2 separate regions of the Homo sapiens genome follow, and region 2 is linked to region 1. The links are contacts of gene promoters, found by promoter capture Hi-C in human tissues and cell types (Jung and others, 2019). All regions are on one chromosome and are shown on one strand. Each heading gives the region's core, a stretch centred on a gene start or on the middle of the fragment in contact. The rest is flanking DNA. Distances are from core to core; before and after follow the strand shown. Region 1 holds the start of TNNT2 (troponin T2, cardiac type). Region 2 overlaps IGFN1 (immunoglobulin like and fibronectin type III domain containing 1).

Region 1 (7,356 bases), core at 2,582-5,081:
AGGCGTGAGCCACCACACCCATTCCATGTGTGCTGGACAAAAGTGAGACCTGGACAAAAGGTCTTTGGGCACCCCAAGAGACTGGCCTGGACAAATGAGTGAGAACTTGTCTCTAAATAAATAAATCAAAGCACACAGCGGGGATCCTTGTGGTTTGGGATCTTTTCAGTATGTAGACTGTGGTGATGGATACGTGAACCTCCACAGGTTAAAGTTGTTTAGAGTTTCACATACACATGGTGCAATTGTGGGCAAATCTGAATAAGATCATAGATTGATTGTATTGATGTCCAATCTTGGTTTTGATATAGTACTAATTTTGCAAATGTTGCCCTCGGGAGAAACTAGGCACCGTGTGTAAACGCTCGTTATTAAAGACAACTGTGTACTAGTCTTTAATTATGTCAATGAAAATTCCGATTAAAAAATGTTCCCCCAGGGAACTCATTCTGAGATCATCTTCTCACTGCACTGGGAACAGATAATCTAGATTCAGATCCTCTTCCATTAGCTTGCCGAGGGTGTTTAGGCGAGTCTTTTTAACATCTCCAAACCTCAGTCCTTTCTCTGTCTCATGGAGATAAAGTGTACACATCCTGGCTACTCAGGGTCTTTACGAGGCTCCAGTTGACATTAACAAAAGGGGAAGGCATTAGGCAACATCAGGTGTTACAATGAGCATGTAATCACAGGGAGGGGGCAGAGAGCAAGCACTTGAGTGTGAGACTAATCTCGTTTTGAATGCTGGCTCCAGCATGCGTTTGCCTGCGACCTTGGCAAGGTCACTTAACCTCCCCACATCTCAGCTCTCTTTGCTGTGAAATTACTGCTCTTCTTGGGTAGGTGTGAGGAACAGAGGTAGTGTGAAGTGTAGGCATTCAGCTAATAACTACTATGACCCAACCCTCCGGGGCCATGACAGTGCACTGCTCCAGGGACACAATCACGTTGTTTGAAACGTGAACAGCAGCCTCTGTTATAGTGCAATATGCCAGCTCCACAGCCTTCCTGATGTTGGCTTCCAAGGGAGAGAATGGACAGGGTGATGTGAGAGTGAGGCTAAAGTGAGGCGGGAGAAGAATCCAAATGATGCTCAGGACCACCCTCCAATGCTCCTCCCCTGCTGCCCACCTCCTGCCCCACTCACGCGTGCCAGTGCTGCAGCACCAATTTCAGACCCAAGCCTCAGGATGAGGACAGAGGCACATAGACAGTCCTGCTCACTCCCTCATCACCTCTCCCTGCACATCCCCCCCATAGTGGCTGAGACCAATCCCAGGCACTCATCTGTGGACATCCAGCAAGAGCCAGGGCTCTGGTTGGGTGGGGTGATGTCCAGAGGCTGAGCCATTCCAAGGGAGCTGCCACTGCCCAGCTGCCCCTCCAGGTGGAGGCTTCCCCAGACTCAGCACCCACTGCAGCCCTGGATTGATTGTCTTCAGACCCTGTTCCCATTATGTCCAGTTCTGCTGGGTTAGAAACAAGCATGGCTGCAGCAGAGTGGTCCTTCCGCTGCTCCCTCTGCTGGAGCAGGGTGAGGACAGTGAGGGAGGAGCCTTGTTTACAAGGAGCTCTGAACCGCAGCTCTGAGCCACTTTTTTGCCCCAACCCCCAGGGTGGGGTGAGTGGGTGAGAAGAAGAGACATCAAATGTGCGAGGTGCTATAATGCGGGATCAAGCCTCATTCTGCTGAAAAAAAGACTCAAACCCCAGAGGTTCTCCAAATAGGTCTTAGGATGAGAGTGGCCAAAGAGAATAGCCTTCCTAACCCTAGGATGGGTGGGGCTGACAATTGTTACCCAAAGCCCCAGGGGAGCGGCCAGAACTAGTGACTTGAGAACTTGAGGAGCTCCTACCTGAGCCCCAGGAGAAGCTTGTCCCTCAGTGGGAGGGAGAAAATTCTCAGAGGAACCGTGCATGGCCAGCCTGGGCGCATAGCTTCTAGCTTTCTCTCTCCTCTCCTACTCTGCCCTTCCACCAGTTCAGAGCCACTGGGCATGGTGCTGGGGCCTCACAGGAGGACAGAGCAGCTTGGACTCCTCTCCCTGTTCCTGGGGGCACCATCCAGCTCCCAAAAATAGCATGCAGACATGCAGGATGGAGGAGGGCTTTCAGCCAGCCCAGAGGACACCACCATGCCAGTGGCTCAAAGGCAGGACCTGATGCAGGGGAAAGAGGTGGGCTGAGACTGGGGGCTGCAGAATGGGAGAGAGTCAAGAACCTGGCAGGGCAAGGAACCAGAATGTCCTGAAACACCTGTGTCCTCACACCCAAGTCCCACCCACTTCCACAGGCAGCTTTCTAGCCTAATGCATTCATAGCCAACACGTGTTGGAAGCCTAACACGTTCACAGGGTCACCTTTCTTGGGGAGTAAAGCAAAGACAATAGAAGGCATAAGGCATACTGACCTTGGGGTCAAAAAATCTGGGCTTAAAACCCAGATTTTGCTGTGTGGCCTTATTTAAGTCACCTAGCCTCTCTGACTTCAGTTAACCAACTACAAAGCAGGAGAGCCTTGAGTTCTGTCCCTGTAGAAACAGTCTCCGAGTTTCTGAGAAACACAGGCCCCACCCCTCAGTCCTTGTCCCCAGCACTCGAATGGGATTTTCCTAAGCCAACAGCTGTTAGCCCACCAGGAGAGCGGGGGTAAGGGGATGGGGAGAGGGCAGGAAGAGTGGAAGTGGGGGTCAGAAATAGGAGGCAGCCAGCAACCTGATCCTCTCAGATTCCACTTTTGCAGAGAGAAGGAAGATTCGCCCTCTAAGACATGGGTCAGAAAAGGAATTTGGGAGGGCAGGTAGCTTCCCGGCTACAGCAGGCCAGGAATGTGCTCTGAAATTCCTTACACACCAGGCAACCCCCTCCCTGAATAGTCCTCAGCCTGCCCAGGAGAAACTAGAAACCAAGGGAATCTTTCTCTACCACTCCTGGGCACAGAGCAAGGCTTGTCCCAAGATGGGGTGTTGGGGTGGGATGGGACAAGGGTTACACTTACGGGGGCCCAGGTTAAACCCTTTAATGCCAACCAGCTGGGCTCACACCCAAGGACAGGTTCTCCCAGTGGGGCCTTTCCCCATCTGCCCCCCAAGTGCAGCTCAGCTCAGGGTCTGGGAGCTCAGCTCAGCTCTGGGAGGGAATGGCACTGAGTCAGCGGCATCAAATGGAATTCCCGCGTTGGCCTGGAGAGGCGCTGCAGAGGACCCTGCACATCTGGTCGTTCTCAGTACTTCCAGGACAGTTTCTGAGTTCCTAGCCTTGAGAATATGACCAGGAGACTCACTTGACTGACAGGGCTGCAGTCTCGCTCTGCTCCCTGGGACTCAAGAAGGACCTGACTGGAAAGGTATAGGTGACCCTCGGCCTGGAACAAGCAATTTAGGGGAGTCTCTGTTGGTTAGAGCCTCATTGTATTTAGAGCAGGCAGAGGCCTAGCAAATATTTAGCCCACTCTACAGATGAGAAAACTGAGGCCTGGGGAGGGAAAGTGACTCATCCAAGAGTTTAAACTCTACATCTTTAGTGGCAGGTCCAGGACTCCAACCCTAGTCTCCAATGGCTACCATGGGATTCTCTCTTTCTCTCTGCTCTATTGTACCAATCTTGGAGCCCAGACCTGGCAACCTGTCCTCTGAAGTGTGGCCTCCACCAGGAGGGGCCATGGACTTCTGCGGACACAGGCAGACTCTGGGTAAATATGCCAGGGCCCAAGACCCTCACATCTCCCCGTCCATTCTCTGCTCTCCTCTTCCCCAGAGCCCTGCCCGAGCCTTACCTCAGAACAGCAGCTGCCGACAGATCCTGGAGGCGTCTGCTCAGTCTCAGCGGGGACTGGGTGAGGCAGAGGATGGAGAGGGCTTTAAGCAGGCATGTGGGCTGGGGCCTGGTGAGCCAGCCCTGCGGAGGGAGGAATGTGCGACAGGGGACGGGTGGGGCAGGGGGATGGCGGTGGGGGTGGGGGGTGTTGGCTGCTATTTTGGCAGGTGCCAGGGACAAGGCTACAGGAACATGTACCCCACGCCATATAAGCCCATGTGGTCCTCCAGCTGCTCAGATAAGCTATTTAAAACCAGAGCAGATATGCAGGGAACAGTCATGCAACATAAACCAGCTGTCCCTCTTGAGAATCCTGATAAAGCAGAGGCCAGCAACCCAGGCCTGGGAGGGCCAGCTGGGAGCAGGGTTGGGGGGCAGAAGGCAACCTCCAAGACACTCCATAAGTCTCAGCACCAGAATCTTGGAAGGCAGAGGGCAAGAGTTATGTGCTGCTCCACTTGAACTGATGCTGGGGGTAAAGACATCTTCCAGGCTACTGGCTCCTAATGGACTGAGCAGCCTTAGGCAGGTTGCCGGCTCTGCCAGCCCCAGTGAGGACATCTGCAAGGTGGGTCTTCTCCATGACCCCCAAAGCCATGTGGCACACCCTCCTCACAGGGAATGGACTGAAACTGCTACAGGAGGCCAGATACAAGGTAGAACTTCCAGTCAAGAACCTTGAACAGGCGCTCGTTGTGTGAGAGGGGTGATGCGGACTGTCAAAGGTCATCCCCTAACGGCTTTAAAATCAAGCAGTGCGGGGCTATGATCTGCTAAACCTACTAGATTGCAGATGCATAGGTCAGGCCTAGGGGTCTTGCTTGCTTGCCTGTGTCTGACCATGCACATGCACTTGTATGTTCAAGGCTGGCCCATTGCAGGGTTTGGTAGATTATGAAAATGAAAGAGACAGGAGGAAAGCAAGCCAGTAAGCAGCTGAGCTGACTCTCCCCTCCATCTCTTTCTCCGAATCTTCACAGCCTAGGTCCTGCTTGGCTCTGAAGCAGGAATGGTCCTCCTCTGGAGCAGGCCCTCCCCTCCTCCATGACCCCCCCTGGCACTTAAAGATCTTGCCCATTCATGATCCACACTCCTCTGTTTCTCCGTGGGCAAAGAAAGCAATCTCGCTATTCTCTGCCCCCTTCTCCCATCACCCAATCATGTGTCCCGCCTTCCCAGTCCTCAAACTCTTCTCTCAATCCCTCTGCCTTGGGAGCTACTATGCTGCCTCCACCACTAATGTCCTTGAAAGGGTCCTCTGCGCAGGGGACTGCCATTTGCTCCACACCCATGCTGCTGTCAGACTCTTGTCCCATCACTCAGCTGACTCCATCCCCTCCATAGTTCCCTGTGGCCTCTGAGTCCAGTGGCCTTGATTGCCCTGCCACGTGGGCCTCCACACTGCCAGCACATCTGTGGCAGGGCAAGCTGAAGCCAACCGCCCGCTGGCCAGCATTGTGGGACTGAGGACCACCACAGGGAAGCAGGGGCACTTTGTAGAGAGACAGGCAGATGGAGGGGACAGATTCCCGAGGGATAGTGAGGAAGGAGTCAGGCTGTCAAGAAAGTGGGGGGAGCCCCATCATCTCTCTCTCCCATTCTAGCCCACGAAGCAGGGCCCAGCCTTGCCTTGGGTCCTGGCCTGGAGTAACGTAGAATTCGGAATTACTTTTCCCAAACCCTTTTTTAACTTGAGGGTGGGTTACTGTTCCTTGTAAGCCCAATAACCTTTCAAACAGACCACGGTTTATTTGCATGGATGCCTAGAAGAGGGATCTGGGCACCTAGGTCACTACTGAGCCCCATGGGAAAAGCCCAGTAGATCCTTGGTGTCACAGGCCACACGTGTATGGCTTCGAATTGTTCTAAGGCAGGAGCTTCGTTCAGAGCGCTGTGAGACAGCCTCTCAGATAAGGAAATCCAGCCCCCATGCAGCAGCCACTCCTGGGCATAGTAGGGTTACTCTTAGCCCATTTTTTTTTTATATCCCTGTCCTTTCAAAGGGATGTAAAGAGAAAACAAAGCCAGAGTGGAATGGGAGGCTTATGCTGAAACAGTGCATGTAAATTTGAGGATCCACAATAGGACGGGCCACTTGTGGGGCACAGGGCCCCTGTGGCAAGACAGCAGGAGGGTGCAGCCCGGAGTGGTGTGTGGGAGCCCTGTTCTGTCTCCAGAAGGTGCCCAATGTCACCCATCCAGAGGCCTCCCCACCCGCCTGGACACCCAGTCGCTACCACTCATCTATCCCCAGCTGAGGTCATCTTGGGCACACCCTGGTCTCCTTGTTTACTGGCTGCGTCCCCAGTAGGAACGAGGGCAGGGCCCTCACGTGCTGGATTCACAGGGGAGGGGGCTGTGCTGTAGCACCCCGACATTTCCCCTAGCAGTCAGCCCTCACTGGGCACCCCAGGGGAGGGGGGTGCAGGCATGAAGGGCCCTGCTGAGGCTGCAGCTGCAGGAACAGGCCCCTCAGTGTCTTCCTAGGCTCTTACTCCACGGTCAGGCCCTGCCAGGTGAAGGCCTCCAGGAGCCTCTCCTCTGTGTGGGGACAGTTTTGTTTACTGGAAAAGTTCACCTATCATGGCATGAACATATGAAAGTTCTCTGAGGTCATCTGCTTGAAGTTCAGAGAAGGAAAATGGCTCAGGGTCACACCTGAGGTCTGGGCAGAGCCAGAGCTGTTTAGATGTCCCGAGGCTTAGGCAGGACTCAATCCGTTCCTCGGCCCTGCCCCAGCCTTGTCCTCCAACTCTCGGCTATGAAGTTGGAACACTCACAAAGCCCCAGCACTAGCAGTGGGTGGGAGGTGCTCGGGGCAGGGACCCCAGGTCCCGATATCCCTCACTCAGGCACAGGAGACTCACTGACCAGAGGTGGGTCAGCCTGGGGCACTGGGACCTGAGCACGGATGGCACTTTGAGGGCCTGTCCCCTGGGGCACAGATCTGAGGAGCCCTCACCCAGAGTCACAGAGTAGGGCTAGGGCTCATCCCCCACACACTTGGGGAACTGGACTGGTGATACCCCCTTAGGAGCCGTGTTAAGGGTCGTGTTCCAAAAAGACCTGGAGCTTCCCCAGGCATGCAAAGGGGGAATGGGCAGGGGGCTCTGCACCTGGCCACATCCCCAGCTGATTCTGGGTAAAACTAGGGCAGTCAATCAAGATGGAGAGTTCTAATGATTTAAATTTTTGAAAAGTTGTAAACCACAGCTTTAAGGGGTTAACAGGGCACCAGGCTGATGTTCCTAGCTTGGTTGGTTCTAGATTCTCTGATGGTTCACCATGCTCCAAGCTCATAGGAGCCATGAGGTCCAGAGCATGGGGGTGGGGGTTGGAGGGGGCTTGTGGGGAAGGAGGGTAGGCCTGGCCCTGTATGTGGCAGTTCCCAGTCACCAAGCTAGGACTGCTGAGTGGCAAGCCACCACCTTAATGTGAGAAGAGGGGGGATGAGGAAAATGATGATCCTCCTCACACACTTCAGGTGACCTCTGCTAGAAAGCAAGGCCTCCAGAGAGGAATTCGCTTCTAAGGTCTCATC
Region 2 (7,528 bases), core at 4,802-7,301, 150 kb before region 1:
GTAGAGATGGGGTTTCGCCGTGTTGGCCAGGCTGGCCTCTCAAACTCCTGACCTCACGTAGTCTGCCCACCTCGGCCTCCCAAAGTGCTGGGATTACAAGTGTGAGCCACTGTGCCCAGCCAGAACAAATATCTTAACATCTCTGTGTTTCACCTTCCTCATCTGTCAAAAGGGGATAATAATAGTAACCTACCTCAAAGGTCTGAGGGTTCAAGGAATTAATATATTGAAAGTGTATATGTAGGGCCTGGCATATGACAGCACCCAATATGTTTTAATATTATTATTGTTTAAAATCATCATCATCTGTGTAGGAATTCAAACCAGTCTATCTTACTCTAAATGACTTGTTCTTAACCACAATAATGACAATGATAATGATGGCAAAAATATTTAATGCACATTGAGTAGTTACCATGTCCTAGGCCTTGTTCTCTCTGCTTTCCGTGTATTTATTATTAACGCCTTAAATTCTCAGAACAATCCTGTGAGGTCAGTTAGTGACTATCAGCATCTTCGTTTGACTCTGGTGCCCACCGTGCCCTGTACTGAGGGCCCCGTAGGGAGTTGACGGCATGGTCACCAAGCAGCTGGGCTGGCCTTCCCACCCTGCTCAGGGTCACCACAGTTCAAGGCCAGGACACCGCAATCTTCCTCCTAGACTATTGCCAAATTATCTCCTACATGGTCTTGGCTGCCAGGGTGGTTAACACTCCCCTCCCCACACATCCCTTCTCATTCCCATCCCACCCCCTGCCATGTGAATCCAGAACTCATTATGCTTTCCTGCTCAGAATCTGACAACAGCGGCTCCTGGCTGAGAGGATAATGTCCAGATGTCTGTAGAGGTGTGACGTGGAGGGCACTTTGCATTTTTGCCGAACCTCTTCGTCCAACTTCCTTTCTTGTTCTACCGCCCCCCTACCATACCCGCCTGCCAACCTCACACTTTATCACCACCCCTCTTTCCCACCTGTGTTTTCTTGTCGACGTTGTGTTTTCTGGTCGACTTTCTCCTTGTAGAAGACTCTTCTCACCGCTTCTACCTTTGGCCTAGCTTAAATGCCATCACCTCCATGAAACTGCCAGCTTCCCCTTCTCAACTTTTCCTTCCTCTCCTTTCTCAGGCCATGCCCATGCCTGAGGTGACCTGGCTGAAGGATGGCTTGCCCTTGCCCAAAAGAAGTGTGACTGTCACTAAGGATGGCCTCACCCAGCTTCTGATCCCTGTGGCTGGACTCTCAGACAGTGGTCTCTACACTGTGGTGCTGAGGACCCTGCAGGGGAAGGAGGTTGCCCACAGCTTCCGTATCAGGGTGGCAGGTGAGGCAGGCCTTGCTCTGGGCTCTGGACGCTGGCTCGGCCACTCACCAAGGCAAAGAGGTGTCCACTGGTCTGATCATAGGTCTCAGCCACTCTACCAGGGCTGGGTATGCAAAGTGACCATTCTCCACCTTTCCTCCATGCTTGATGATAGAAAGTAGAAAGGACCCCAGAAGATCCCCTGGGGACTTCCATTGTCCTTCTGCCTCAGGAGCCTAGAGACAGTCATGTCATGTCTCCTCTCCGACCTCAGTTATCCTTCCCGTTGAGTCAGTGAGCAGAGGCGGTTACCACTGTTACATCACTCCAAAGACCCAGGGGACAAAATTGTCTGCAGCCGTTGCACAGGATAAAGGCTTTCCTCCCCAGCTGTGGCTCCACACAGCCCCTGCCCTGGAGGAGCTTCTGGATATCCAGAAATGATCAAATAGACTAACAGTGGGGGCTCTGTAATGCAGCTTCATGAGAGCCCTGCCTCTGTCCAAAAATGCATGCCTTGTCCTGTGTCATTTTACTTAAAAACTGAAGTGAATTCAGTGAAACCCCATCTCTGCGAAAAATACAAAAAATTAGCCGAGCGTGGTGGTGGCCGCCTGTAGTCCCAGCTACTTGGGAGGCTGAGGCAGGAGAATGGCGTGAACCCGGGAGTTGGAGCTTGCAGTGAGCCGAGATCGTGCCACTGCACTCCAGCCTGGGTGACAGAGCCAGACTCCGTCTCAAAAAACAAACAAACAAACACACTGAAGTGAATTAAAATTACTCTTTTGGGGAGATTTTCTACCCTCTAGAGATAACTGTGGACCGCTGGCCAAGCTTACTCTGGGTCCAGCTACTTGTGTGGCAAGACTGCGTTCCCCAGGACCCTCAGAAGTCCTGGGACCTGGAGGGGGCTGGTAGCAGCCCTGCTGGGTCCCCTCCACGTGACCTCCCTCTGCCGTCTCTCCTGAAGCATGCCCGCAGGCCCCTGGGCCCATCCACCTGCAGGAGAACGTGCCTGGGACGGTGACGGCCGAGTGGGAACCCTCTCCTGACGAGGCCCAGGATGTCCCGCTGCACTACGCGGTGTTCACACGCTCCTCAGCGCACGGTCCCTGGCACGAGGCAGCCGACCGCATCCACACCAACCGCTTCACCCTCCTGGGCATCCTCCCCGGCCACGAATACCACTTCAGGGTGGTGGCCAAGAATGAGCTGGGGGCCAGCAAACCCTCGGACACCAGCCAGCCCTGGTGCATCCCCCGGCAGCGCGGTAAGCAGCCCCTGAGAGGGAGGAGCAGGCAGGGTGGGGGTTGCGCTCTGCAATGCAGTGGGATGCACCCAAGCATGGCAAGCGCGCAGGATAGGGACTGTGGCAGGGATGGCCTGGAGCATGCCAAATAACAGCCAGCAGCCCCGAGCTGCTGCTCCTCCCGCTCCTGCCTCACACCCACCTGTTCTGGCATCCTCTGCACCCCGACCTCCGTGGGAAGAATGAGATTGGTGTGGGTGTTTTGGTGTCTGAGGTGCCTTTGGGAGGATTTTCAAAAGCAGCCACAGACAATAAGGCAAATAGAGGTTAATGTTTCTCTGAAAACAAAGTGTATATTTTACCGCAAAGTAGATGTGGACCTTAAGATCAGTCACAGAAAAGCAGGCTATAAAATCAAATCAAGGTTTCATTTTCATAAAATACAAAAATTTCAGGAAAGCTCTACACCAGAATGTCAGCTATAGTCATCTATAGGTAGTGAGATTATGATTTGGTTTTTATTCTTTCTCCTTTGATTCTCTGTGTATTCTAATTGTCCACAGTGAATGTGTATTAGCTACAAAAAAAAATCCATAAAGAATTTTAGGAAAAGGATAGAATGAGGCAAGCCTTGGGGTCCAAATTTGCAGGCAAGATGTGGCAGGAAATCCCAGATAAGGCCTACATGGTAGCTTCATGAACTCTTTACCCAGACCCGGGTCTCAGCCAGGCCTTCCTCGCTTTCTCACCCTCTTCTCTCACCCCGGCTTTCACCACAGACAGGTTCACAGTGAAGGCTCCGTGCTACCGGGAGCCCGACCTGAGCCAGAAGCCCCGGTTCCTGGTGGGCCTGCGGTCCCACCTGCTGCCCCAGGGCTGCGAGTGCTGCATGAGCTGTGCCGTGCAGGGCTCGCCCCGGCCCCACGTCACCTGGTTCAAGAATGACCGCAGCCTGGAAGGAAACCCCGCGGTGTACAGCACTGACCTGCTGGGCGTGTGCTCCCTCACCATCCCCAGCGTATCCCCGAAGGACAGCGGGGAGTACAAGGCTGTGGCTGAGAACACGCTGGGCCAGGCAGTCAGCACTGCCACCCTCATTGTCATAGGTAATGGTGGCTGCCCTGGCAGTGGGGCAGGAAGGAGAGCCAGGAGAGCAACCACCTGCCTGTCAGGGAGGCTCCGGGGGGTGCCTAGAGGGATTCAGCCGGGAGTCAGGAGACCAGGACTCTCTGCCTGACTCTATGAACTTTCAGCTATTTAACCTACCAACACCGGCCCACATGTGGTCTTTATTTGCCCACTTTTTAAAAAATTTATTTTTATTTTTAGTTTTTTTTTTTTTGAGACGGAGTTTCGCTCTTGTTGCCCAGGTTGGAGTGCAATGGCATGATCTCGGCTCACTGCAGCCTCCACCTCCTGGATTCAAGAGATTCTCCTGCCTCAGCCTCCTGAATAGCTGGGATTACAGGCATCCGCCACCACACCTGGCGGATTTTTTTGTATTTTTAATAGAAGGGGGGTTTCATCATATTGGCCAGACTGGTCTCAAACTCCTGACCTCAGGTGATCCACCCGCCTCGGCCTCCCAAAGAGCTAGGATTACAGGTGTGAGCCACTGTGCCCGGCAGATTTGCCCACTTTTAAAATGAGGTATTTGAACTTGGTGAGCAACTCTTGATTGAAGGGCTGTGTACTGCTCACCTAAGCTTCCCAGTGGGGCCACGCTACACATTGCAGGCTGAGAGATGAACAGGCATCCGTATTGCTGTTTCTTAAGTATGTCAAGATATGAACACTTAGTGCCTAGAAAGCCATGCTGATTCTCTCATTGGTAGTCTCCTTTTCAGTAGCACAGATATATATGTTAATAAAGGTTTTTCCTTCGATAGTACTTAAAACACCTTATATTTTGAATAGCAATAAAAGGCAAGCCTCAATTGACCTTTGTGGAAAAACGGCCCCTTTGCACTGGAGCAGAGCATCTCTCCTCTCTGTAGCACCTGTGCTTAGGCATTTAGGAAGCCACTCTCGAAACACCCCAGCTTGTGTACACATGTAGTCCCGGAACGAAGATGGCATTGGGGGTGATTATGGTTCCCCGAGGGGCCAGCAAAGGGCTTTGCCCAAGCTTAGAGAGCACGTGGTGGCTCCAGATTTGAACCCACACCCCCTGATGGCAGAGCCTGTAGTCTAAGCCCCATTCTGAGTTTTCTTCACCACTGAACAGATGCAGGGTGGGGTGGCTGCCCCTCTGAACCAACTGGAATATCCTGTGTCTTGCAGAACCCAGCACCTAGCCTCACCTCACCCTGGGATGGTCCTGGACCCTTGAAGCTTCACTTCCGACACCTGCACTGGCCCGGGAAGCCAATCCCAAGGATGGAGGCTGTGCCCAGAGCCCCAGGAAAATGGGAGTGAGAAGATGCCTGGCGAGGTTTTGGCCAGGAGGACGTGAAGTCCTTGGGGAAGAAAAACAAGGGAGGAGGGCATTCCACCTCCTGGCTCCAAGCTAAGTCACTCAACAGAATGACAGCGAACCTCCTGGACCCTCACCATATGGGTTTCTTTCTTCTTCGCTTCAGGAGATCCAGAGGGCACCTGCCTGCAGGATGGGCCGGCTCCTTATTTTCCTGGGCTGAGCCGTTTGGAGGGAGGGTGGGCACAGCTGGGCCTGCTGTGACCACTGGGAGGGAAGAGGAGAGGAGGTCAGAGGACCTGGGTGAGGACTAGGGCATCAAGGTCGTGTGTGTGGGTGGGGGCAGCCTCCACCTCCTGGATTCAAGAGATTCCAGGGGTGCAGCAAGTGCTTTCTATGCGTTTCTTCATTAAAACATTAGGCTAATACAGGCAGATCATTGGCAAATTTACTTGGGGTGGGTGTGTTGGAGGAAAGATTTCCAAAGCGGAGCCTTTATTCCAGGCTTCAGTTGGGAGGATGGGTGGGTTCTGGATAGAGGAAGAACGGGCTCAGAACTGGACTCTTCTCCTGCAGCCCAGGCCTACATAGTTGATTGCAAGGGCGAGAAAGCCAAGAAGGGTTAGAGGGTAATGGAGAGGCTTCTCTTCCTCCTGGCCTTTGTTTCCTGCACTCTTCTGACTGGCAGAAATCCTGTGAGCAGCAGGGCTGGAGGCCTCCCCAGGTGTTACGTGTGTGGGGACCACAGGGCTGGGGTTGCCTAGGGTTGGCCTATGTCCGTCACTCCCCGGGACCAGAAAGAGTCTGAGTTGGGGAGAATCCTACTCCAGGATCTATGCCCCTGTCAGAAGGGGAAGAAAGAGGCTCTCAAGTGCATGAGGGTGACTCTCACTCAAGGCTGCATGAGGCCTCCTCACCTTCTTCACAGTCCCCACTGCCCCATGTCACAGGAGGGATGGGATGCCTCCCTTTCCCAGGTGGGTCACCCCACCACTGCCCCCAGAACTCTTGCACTCCATTATCCTCAAGGCATGGCCCCCAAACTCTCAGGCTCCCAGGAAATATTCCAGAGTTTCCAGGAGCCAAAAGAAAGGAAGGAGCCCCGGGGAAGGCTGAACCCCACTCTCTCCCAGGGCATCAGCTCTGAGGCCCAGCAGGTGACCCGATGAGCTAGAACACTGTCTGCCCTTCACTCCCTCTGCTCAGATCCTGGCTTCTGCTTCCCTCAGCCTCCCTTTGCCACTAACTGCAGGTCAGATGCATGAAGGAAGGAGGGTGAATCACAGGAGGAAGGGTTAATGCCAAAAATCTGTTTCTGAAGAGTGAGAATATGTGACCAAGGGAAGGTTCTCTGAACCGGAGAGAGAACTGTTCACCTAAAATAGACCAAGAGTGTCCCCCAGAGGCAGGGACACACACCAGACAACCTTTTATAGCTCATTCCTTCCCCTACCAAAGAAACCTGCATGAGCTGTTTTCCTTGGAATTTCTCTTGTTATCTCTACCTTGCTAACACAGCAGGCCAACACCATGGCCATAGGAAAAGAAGGAAGTTCTTAGAAACTGAGAGGCAGTGGCTGGACACCTCAGCCTGTGTGGGGCAGTTCTCATGAGTTCTTTCCATGCTGCACGGTCCTGGAGTTGAAGGAGGGCAGGGCCTCAGGCCAATAGTCTGTGGTTTCAGAAATGCAGAGAAGAGGTCGTTTGCACAGAGGGGGTGACCCAGTGCCTGTGGCATGCCTAGCTCTGAGCAGACACTCATATTGAGGATGAGAAGAGAGACCTTTCTGTACCTCTAAGGGTGGGCTACAGGGGACTGACCTATTGAGGCAATATAAGGACAAAAGACTATAACTCATGATGGCTTCATAAGACACCTTCATTTTTTTTTTATGAGCCTGGATCAGGCACTGTGGAGGCGGAGATGAAGATGACTCAGATATGAGTCCTATAGCCAAGGGATCCATGGCAGGGACGCAAGACTTGAATACCAAGAGCCATAATCCAAGGTAGCCTGTGATGCATATTCTAAGAAAGGCACCAATAAAGTCTAGAGGAGTTCAGAGGAGGAGAGATGCTGCAGACTGAGAACCTCAAGGAGGGCTTCGTAAAGTGGTAACATGCTTGAGGGAAAAGTAGCAACTGGACAGGCAGGAATGGGCAAGGGTGTATCACGGTGGAGAACACCATGAGCAAAGGCAAGGAGGTAGGGAAGCACAAATTGGGTTCGAGGGCTGGCAAATGGTTCAGATTAGACAATTCAGGGTGACCTATGTAGCTATCACAGCCCTTTGGTCTAATGCCAAAGGGAAACATTCTAGGACCAAATTTACAGGTGCATGTGTGCTCTGGGCGCCAACCACGATGGAGGTGGAGTTCCTGCCCTTGGAGGCCTGGGACAGTGGAAAGCAGTTGTCTCTTTTGGCAGTGGACAGCAGAGTGCCAATATCCTGGGGCAGGCCAAGTTAGGTGTCCCTGGGAGGGGCTAGCATACTTCTGTAACTGGGGTGGGATATGAAGACAAAAGGAATGGTCATGGCATTTTCATTCATTTCCACACA

What was found. Contacts are between HindIII fragments. The study calls those that stand out against the background at their distance.
Region 2: a fragment that was not itself captured here is called in contact with the fragment with the promoter of TNNT2 in region 1 in 1 of the 25 tissues and cell types used here (IMR-90 fibroblasts).

The regions. Positions count from the first base shown.
Region 1 is chr1:201,373,849-201,381,204 of GRCh38, forward strand. TNNT2 (troponin T2, cardiac type) reads right to left here and starts at 3,832. Exons shown (of 17, transcript NM_001276345.2): 1 at 3,775-3,832. It overlaps LAD1 (ladinin 1), which reads right to left. Exons shown (of 10, transcript NM_005558.4): 10 at 6,985-7,356. RefSeq lists enhancers at 2,362-2,858, 3,263-3,800, 3,801-4,338, 5,675-6,438. The HindIII fragment of the contact is 17,386 bases long and covers 1-7,356 here.
Region 2 is chr1:201,223,552-201,231,079 of GRCh38, forward strand. IGFN1 (immunoglobulin like and fibronectin type III domain containing 1) reads left to right here. Exons shown (of 24, transcript NM_001164586.2): 21 at 1,128-1,323; 22 at 2,273-2,572; 23 at 3,331-3,657; 24 at 4,835-5,401. The coding sequence ends at 4,848. Among named protein-coding and RNA genes, the nearest start is that of IGFN1, 36 kb to the left of the region's middle. RefSeq lists an enhancer at 2,005-2,997. The HindIII fragment of the contact is 5,710 bases long and covers 3,197-7,528 here.